2 separate regions of the Homo sapiens genome follow, and region 1 is linked to region 2. The links are contacts of gene promoters, found by promoter capture Hi-C in blood cells and fetal thymus (Javierre and others, 2016). All regions are on one chromosome and are shown on one strand. The core of a region is centred on a gene start or on the middle of the fragment in contact, and the rest is flanking DNA. Distances in the headings are between cores, read along the strand shown. Region 1 holds the start of TRS-CGA2-1 (tRNA-Ser (anticodon CGA) 2-1). Region 2 holds the start of ZNF184 (zinc finger protein 184).

Region 1 (4,049 bases), core at 1,387-3,886, 260 kb after region 2:
GTCGAGACGGGGTTTCACCGTGGTAGCCAGGATGGTCTCGATCTCCTGACCTCGTGATCCTCCCTCCTTGGCCTCCCAAAGTGCTGGGATTACAGGCGTGAGCCACCGTGCCCAGCCTGTTCACTCTTTTTAAGAGTGCCAGGCACACACATACTAATGGATATTTATGATCTTAGATCTTTTAAATTATCATCAGCCTGGTTTGTTTTTAATACCACAGAACTACTTAATGATGCTTACCTACATTTCTATTATCAGTACAGGGAGTTTTTGTTGTTGTTGTTTGTTTGGTGTTTTTTTAAATTATTATTTTATTTTAATTTTATTTTTTTCTCTTTCTGTCACCCAGCCCCAGGCTGGAGTGCAGTGGCGCGATCTCGGCTCACTGCAACCTCCGCCCCCCGGGTTCAAGCAATTCTCTGCCTCAGCCTCCCGCGTAGCTGGGACTACAGGCGCCCGCCACCACGCCTGGCCTCCGAAAGCGCTGGGATTACAGGTGTGAGCCACTGCGCCCGGCCTGGGGAGTTGTATTTTTATTTTTATTTTTTATTTATTTTTTTGAGACGGAGTCTCGCTCTATTGCCCAGGCTGGACTGCAGTGGCCTGATCTCGGCTCACCGCAACCTTCACCTCCCGGGTTCAAGCAATTCTCCTGCCTCAGCCTCCCAAAGTGCTGGGATTACAGGCGTGAGCCACCGCGCCCGACTGAGGGGAGTTGTATTTTTAAAGCAAAATTTCCTCTTTGCCGTTAGAATCTGTCGCTGCTTTCCCATTTAGCAATCTCAAAACAAAGTGAGCAGCTATTGTGAAAGCCCAAGAAGCCCCAGGCTTCCTGTGGACTCTGAGGAGTAGGTAGATCTTTGATGGAAGCACCGCCCGGGGCTCAGGGGTTCACTGAGGCTCAGCTGGGAGGAGCAGGTCCGGGTGCTTAGGGTAAAGGTGGGCGGTCCAACACAGAGTTCGAGATAGGACGCGGCCCTCTTCTCAGTTTGTATGTGAAATAAGATGAAAGACTGAGAGTCACAGCGATTTGTGATTTAGAAAAAAAAGAGAGAGAGAGGTACCGAGAAGCGCTGTGAGCAGGATTTGAACCTGCGCGGGGAGACCCCATTGGATTTCGAGTCCAACGCCTTAACCACTCGGCCATCACAGCCCTCTAAATGGTTACTATTTATGCATCAAAAACACATACGCATAGGGCCCTGCATGCTGTAATTCTCACTGCTAGCCTCTCTTGTTTATTTGTATGTGGGGCTGTGGGGCTGCAGCTGTTTACTTTCAAGTGGTGCCTGCATATTGTACAGAACATACAGAACATCTATAAACCATTCTTGAGTTTTTTCTTCTTCAGTCAACTGGTCATTTAGAACTCTTATGAGGCCATAGATGTAGATGTACACACACACACACACAAATAAACAGAAGGCAATATAGCAAGAGTAGATGCCATAAACAGCTGTGCCACTTCCTCATGCAACCTACTTGTGCCTTTAGGAGCTGCTCAAGCTTTATTTAATACATCCCATTTCCATTTGATAATGGAACGCTGCTGTGCATGTCTAAATTTATGGCTTGGTAACACACACTATCCAGTTCAAGATCTGCATCTGAGGCCATATGGTAATGTGGTGGTATGTGGTCAAGCATTCAGACTGTACTAAGAACCTGGTTAAAAAAAAAAAAAGCTGGTAAAAGCTACTTGTCTAAAGAAGAGTAGTTACCCACAGAGGATGGCAAAACTTTGCTCTGAAATTCTAAAGTTCTGTGCCGTGATTCACCTGTAGAAATTTGCCAAAGCCTCCAGATAACATCCCTCTTCTCTGACACTTGAAGAAAGATCAATTCTTCTGGTTCTTATGGTCCCAGTGGCAGAGTCGCTTGAGCTGCAACGTGGTCCTGTTGCAGAACCATTTCCTGTTCTAGGCCCCCACTCAAAACTGGGATATTTTCAGGTTACTTGATAAATGGTTTGGTGTAGCGTGCCCAAATGTTGCCTCCCAAATCCAAAGAGTTCTACTCAGTATGTTCTACTCAGTATTGTACCACTTTCTTTCTTTCTTTTTTTTTTTTTTTTTTGAGACGGAGTCTGTCGCCCAGGCTGGAGTGCAGTGGCACGATCTCGGCTCAATGCAAGCTCCGCCTCCCGGGTTCACGCCATTCTCCTGGCTCAGCCTCCCGAGTAGCTGGGACTACAGGGGCCCGCCACGCCCGGCGAATTTTTTGTATTTTTTTTTTTATTATTAGTGACGGGGTTTCACTGTGTTAGCCAGGATGGTCTCGATCTCCTGACCTCGTGATCCGCCCGCCTCGACCTCCCAAAGTGCTGGGATTAGAGGCGTGAGCCACCGCGCCCGGCCACCGCTTTCTTAATAAGAAAAGGTATCAGATGCAGCAACTCATAATGTTGCAGACAATTGGACACCTAGAAATTTCACTGAGGTAGTAAGGCTCTGATTCTTTGTGAGGTTTATTTCCCACCGTCTGGCATACAAATGTCTTACCAATGTTATAGAGTAGTTGCTACCTTCTTGTCACTAAAAATATAATTAATGTAAGAGACCAGTATGATGTTCTATGGAATGGTAAGGTGATAAAACTCCCTGTGGACTAGTTGGTGACACAGGGTTAGAGACTCAATATATCCCCAAGGTAGTGAGACAGCCAGGTGGGAGGGGGTCCCTGGATTCCAACCAGCCTACCCACTGAGGTGGAGCCTCAGGAAGTTCATGATGTTTGCAGCTGGGAGGATCCTGGCCCTTCCTCTTCCTATGTGGAACCTGGGATTCCAACTGCTGGGCAGGAAGTAGAAGCGCTCTAGTGGAGGGACTCTGGCCTTGCGAGAGTCCCTGTTTCCCCCTTTTTCCCTTTTCACCCAATAAAACCCTGTCTTACTCACCAAATTGTCTGCAAGCCTGAATTTTCATGGCTGTGGGACAAAGAACCCCATCTTTAGCTGAACTAAGGAAAAGTCCTGCAACAGTAGGGCAGATAAGGTGTACTGCTGGCCTTGCCAGCTAAAAGACCACTGCTTCTGATGGTCTTAATGATTAAGTATAGAGAAAAAAGAACTAACCATATCAATAACAGCATAGCAGGTACCAGGAGATGTGTTAATATTTCCATTAATGAAACCACATCTGGAATAGCAGATGCAATTGGAATATTTACCTGACTAAATTTTCAATAATTCACCATCATTCTCCATAATCCATTTGTCTTCCGCAGTTGAATAATGAGTTGAATAGAGATATGCTAAGAACCACCAGCCCTGCATCTTTCAAGTCCTTGATGGTGCCATCCTTTCTGCAATCCCTCCAGGAGTACAATATTCCTTTCGGTTTATAATTTTCATAGGTAGAGGAATTTCCAGTGGCTTCCCCTTGGCCTTTTATACCATAATAGCCTGCACTCTATCACTCATAGAAACAATATAAATATTCTGTTTGGAATTGGGAAAATAACTACAGAGTAGGTTCAGGGATCTGCTGTGCCTATAGTGAAATGCACCAGAGGCAAAATTTCATTGAATGTCTGACCTCTCTGAGTCCCTAATTTGCCAGGTGGACAATAGTGATGCTTAGTATCTCTAGGAATTAATGTCAGTTCAGGATCTTTGTTTAGTAATTCCTGAAAAGTCTGCCTATTTCCCCTTTCCCAAAGCACAGTCACTCTGGTAAATGGATACAGGCCCCTTTAGAGAAGGGAGGAAGAATAACAGTATAAATTTGTACTAAGCTATGAGTATTCTTTCTCAAGAGAAGCTTACCTTCTCCTCAGTCAAAGCTGGCTCATATCTGGGAATTGGTTGGGAGGCCATGATTCTCTGTTTTGCTGATTCAGGTCAGACTTCTATCTACTAGACTTTTCTGCTTATATAGATCAAGTAAGATATTAATAAGTTGCATACTTATTTTAATTCTAGGGATGTTATATAGTATAGTCATCAATGTCAAAGATCTCTGAGTCAGACTATTCTGATTACTGCTTGTACTCATTATAGTAAACACACCTGTATTAGTAAACTTGAGCTGCCATAAGATACCACAGAC
Region 2 (4,239 bases), core at 1,280-3,779:
TCTGTTAAAATTGATGAGCCAATGTTGATAAATTATTATTAACTAAAGACCATAGTTTATATTACGGTTCACTCTTTGTGCTGTATATTCTATGGGTTTTAACAAATGTATAACAACATGTATTCGCCATTACAATATCATACAGAATAGTTTCACTGCCTTAAAAATCCACTGAACGTCACTTATTCTTCCCTCTTAAAATCCACTGAACGTCACTTATTCTTCCCTCTTAAAATCCACTGAATGTCACTTATTCTTCCCTTTTTCCCTCCCCCTAAGCCCCTGGCAACCACCAATCTTTGCTGTTTCCATAGATTAGCCTTTTCAGGAATGTTATGTAGATGGAATTATACAGTATATAGCCTTTTCCAGATTGACTTCTTTCACTCACCAATACGCACTTAATATTCTTCTGTTCTTCCTTTTTGGTAGCTTGATAGCTCATTTCTTTTCCTTACTGAATGTTCCATTGTCTGAATGTACCATAGTTTATGTATTCATTCATGTACTGAAGGACATCTGGCTGCTTCCAAGTTTTGCCTATCATGAACAAAGCTGCTATAAACATTCTTGGGCACGTTTTGTGTGGACATACATTTTCAACTCCTTTGCATAAATACCAAGGAACACAATTACTAGATCATATGGTAAGAGTATGTTTAGTTTTGTAAGAAATTGTCAAACTGTCCTCCAACGTAACTCTAATATTTTGCATTCCCACCAGCAATGAATGAAAGTTCCTGTGCTCCACATCCTTGTCAGCATTTGGTATTGTCAGGGTTCTGGATTTTGGCCATTTTGACAGGTGTATAGTGGCATCCCATTGTTTTAATTTGCATTTCACTGAGGACATATGTGGAGCATCTTTTCATATGCTTATTTTCCATCTGCATATCTTCTTTGGTGACATCTGTTAGGGTCTTTGGCCTATTTTTTTAATCGGTTTGTCTCCTTATTGTTGAGTTTTAAGAGTTCTTATATATTTTGGATATCAGTTCTTTATCAGATATGTACTTTGCAAGTATTTTCTCCCAGTCTGTGACTTGTCTTTTCATTCTCTTGAACATTTTTTTTTAAACCAATGTTCTCTTCATGGCAATATATGCATTCTCTAAGATGACCGAAGCTTTCTCTATCATGTTCCCTTGACTGTAATTGTTTTTCATACACTCTGTTAGGATTTCCAGGTTTAATGTTTGTCAGCCAACAGTCTGAGAGACTTGACCTTGGCCCCTTATCCAAATGCTGGGGATGCACGCCAGCATAATAAAATGCAAGTGCCATGTCTTAAATATAAAAACCTACCGATTTGTTGGATTCTTTTTTTCTGCCAAGGACACAGTGACAGACTGGCCATGGGCTACACTTGCAGCTATGTGCTCGCTGACACAGGCATATAAAATGCTTTACTAAGTGGCAAAACATGGGAATATTATCTCCGGGTTTCCTTAAGCATTAGAAAAACATGTTGGGGCCGGGCGCAGTGGCTCACGCCTGCAATCCCAGCACTTTGGGAGGCCGAGGCGGGCGGATCACTTGAGGTCAGGAGTTCGAGACCAGCCTGGCCAACATGGTGACCCCCTCGTCTCTACTAAAAATACAAAAATTAGCCGGGGATGGTGGTGCATGCCTGTAATCCCAGCTACTCGGGAGGCTGAGGCAGGAGAATCGCTTGAACCCGGGAGGTGGAGGTTGCAGCGAGCCGAGATCGCGCCATTGCACTCCAGCCTGAGCAACAGAGCTAGATTCCGTCTCAAAAAAAAAAAAAAAAAAAAAAAAGTTGGTCGCCACTCATTTGAGAGTCGTGAAAACAATTTTAATGGGTAACTACCAGTATTTTCAAAACGACAAAAGAGTAGAACAGAAAATAGAAGGTAGAACATGTAATAAAGGTAACGATTGTTTGCGTTTTAAAACTGTGTGTAGACGTGTATTTCTTTTTTTTCTTTTCTTTCTTTCTTTTTTTTTTTTTTGTTGTTTTGTTTTTTTGAGACGGAGTCTCGCTCTGCCGCCCAGGCTGGAGTGCAGTGGCGCGATCTCGGCTGACTGCAACCTCTTCCTCCCGGGTTCAAGCGATTCTTCTGCCTCTGCCTCCTGAGTAGCTACAGGCGCGCGCCACCACGCCCGGCTAATTTTTGTATTTTTAGTAGAGACGGGGTGTCACCATATTGGCCAGGCTGAGTCTCGAACTCCTGACCTAGTGATCCACCCACCTCGGCCTCCCAAAGTGCTCAGATTACAGACGTGAGCCACTGCGCTCGGTCAGTAGACGTGCATTTCTTATAATCAGTTCAGTCAGACAAGTTTACAATGCACACGCATACCTGAAACAGGAGCAAAAGACTGGCGGCGAAAATGTGCGGCCCATCGCAGGGCGAAAGTACACGTTAGCTAAAGCCTCTGGGAAATGAAGTTCAGGAACACCTTCGCGGAGTGTTCTGGGAACGCTGGTCCAGTGTGCCCGCCCGGCGCCGGCGTGCGGGGCGGGGCTCGCTCGTAACGACCGGAAGTGACCGTTGAAGCCGGTTGTAGGCGTGGAAAGAGGTTGGCGCGCTGGAAGTCCAGTTGCTTCGGCTCCCTGCGTTAGGTCTGGTGGCGGTCAATGCGCTTCCGGACCCGGGATCAGAGTGTGTGGATCGCTATAGGGGGAGGGGAGCTCAGGTATCACCATGGCAACAGCCAGCCCTCCGGACTCGTGACGTCACCCTTCTGATTTCGCGCTTAGAGGCCTCTGCAGGAGAAAGCTGGGGAGTCCTCGAAGGGGGCGCACCTCGCCTCCTTCTGTGCGGGGCGGTCCCGCCCTGATCCCTTGGAGGGCTTTGTTCTTTTGTTCTGGCCTAAGGGGAAGTCGGGTGCCGGGCCCCGCCCTGTTTGTCCACCTTCCAGCTTTAACGCTCTGCAACAGGTGTGTCTTCGTGTTATCCGAGCTCGCAGGGGTGTGAGTCACAAGTGTGCACAGAGGGAACACACCAGGTCTGTGGATGCCCCGGCCAGATTCTAGGGTGGGCACCAAGGGTTTTTTGGATCTGAAGCAGAACCCGCGTACCCGATCTCCACTCTGTTTTGTTCATCGGAGTGCCACACACCTCTCTAGTGCTCTCTTGGGGCACTTCTCTTGTGTAGCACCTCTTGGTCACTTTGCAAGACTCTGATGTGTGATTGTGTGACGTATGCTGCTGACGCCATCCTGTGTCTTTTAGGGTAGACAACCTCAGCGTGTTGCAGATTCCCTGCAAGGGGAGTTAGACATCTGAGTCCTAGACCGAGATACCAGCTGAAGGAACGCTGCCTGGCGAACCCTGGTGTTCAAGTTCCAGAGGAACGGGATGAGCTCCTGAGATGGAAGGTAGTGGGGTCGACTTGGGGGAGAGCGGGGTGATGGAGGCTTGAGAACAGTCATGACTGGAGTATCAAATACTTGAGATCAGAGCAGGAGATTTGGAAGGAAGGAACGGTATGCTTAGGGATTAGCAAAGAAACCGAATTACATTGTAGGGAGAGATTCTGTTTTATAGAGAGATACTTGGGAGAGGAGTTTATTTTTTTCTTTCGTTCCATTGGGGAATGAAAAGACATAATCATTCAGAATATCTGTGATCCCCACATGACTTCTGAATATTAAATATTAAAATTATAATCTTGAAGTCAGAAGACATCTTGGCAATTATCCCTTCAATGAAAGAGTCAGTTTTGAAATCTCCTTGGCAGACGGCTGTCTGTCAACCCTATGCCCGAACTAGTGTGGCATTAAACTCGCCATTTTGGGTGCAGACTATTCCCTTGTTGGCTTTCTTTTTTAGTTTCTTATATTAAACAGATGTACTTGTCCCTGTAACTTTTGTGTTGATCTTAGTTCTTAGTCCTCCAAAGAAAAGGAAACTGTCTGTTCTTTCTTTCACACTGCTGCCCTTAAGATATGTGAATTCAGCTGTTACAACTCCTCCTCATAAATTCTTTTCTAAGCAATATAGCCTCACTTCTTTTGATTGGTCTATGTGATGTATCTAGACCTTTCTCTGAAAACTCTCCTGCTTGTCAGCATTTTTCTTAAAATGCAGTGCCTAATGGTAAACATAGCTCTTTGGATGTGCTTTGAAAAGTACCTGAGAGGATAATGTACTACTTCCTTTGACTCGGATTATACTTCCGCTGTTTGGCATTAGATCACATTTGCTTTAAAAACTATCAGTGATGTACTGTAAACTTTAGATCTTTTTTACATAAACTGCAGTGATCTAG

What was found. The method cuts DNA at HindIII sites, captures the fragments that hold promoters and counts their contacts. A CHiCAGO score of 5 or more calls a contact.
Region 1: a contact is called between a fragment that was not itself captured here and the fragment with the promoter of ZNF184 in region 2, in 1 of 17 cell types (megakaryocytes). The highest score is 10.1, in megakaryocytes.

Annotation. Positions count from the first base shown.
Region 1 is chr6:27,206,953-27,211,001 of GRCh38, reverse strand. TRS-CGA2-1 (tRNA-Ser (anticodon CGA) 2-1) reads right to left here and starts at 1,153; the gene lies at 1,072-1,153. The HindIII fragment of the contact is 2,255 bases long and covers 1,509-3,763 here.
Region 2 is chr6:27,471,395-27,475,633 of GRCh38, reverse strand. ZNF184 (zinc finger protein 184) reads left to right here and starts at 2,529. Exons shown (of 6, transcript NM_001318891.2): 1 at 2,529-2,905; 2 at 3,201-3,346. The coding sequence starts at 3,340. LOC105375001 (a long non-coding RNA gene) reads right to left here and starts at 2,510. Exons shown (of 2, transcript XR_926664.4): 1 at 2,325-2,510; 2 at 1-540. RefSeq lists enhancers at 2,518-2,677, 2,738-2,837, 2,858-2,947, 3,278-3,407. The HindIII fragment of the contact is 5,482 bases long and covers 1,129-4,239 here.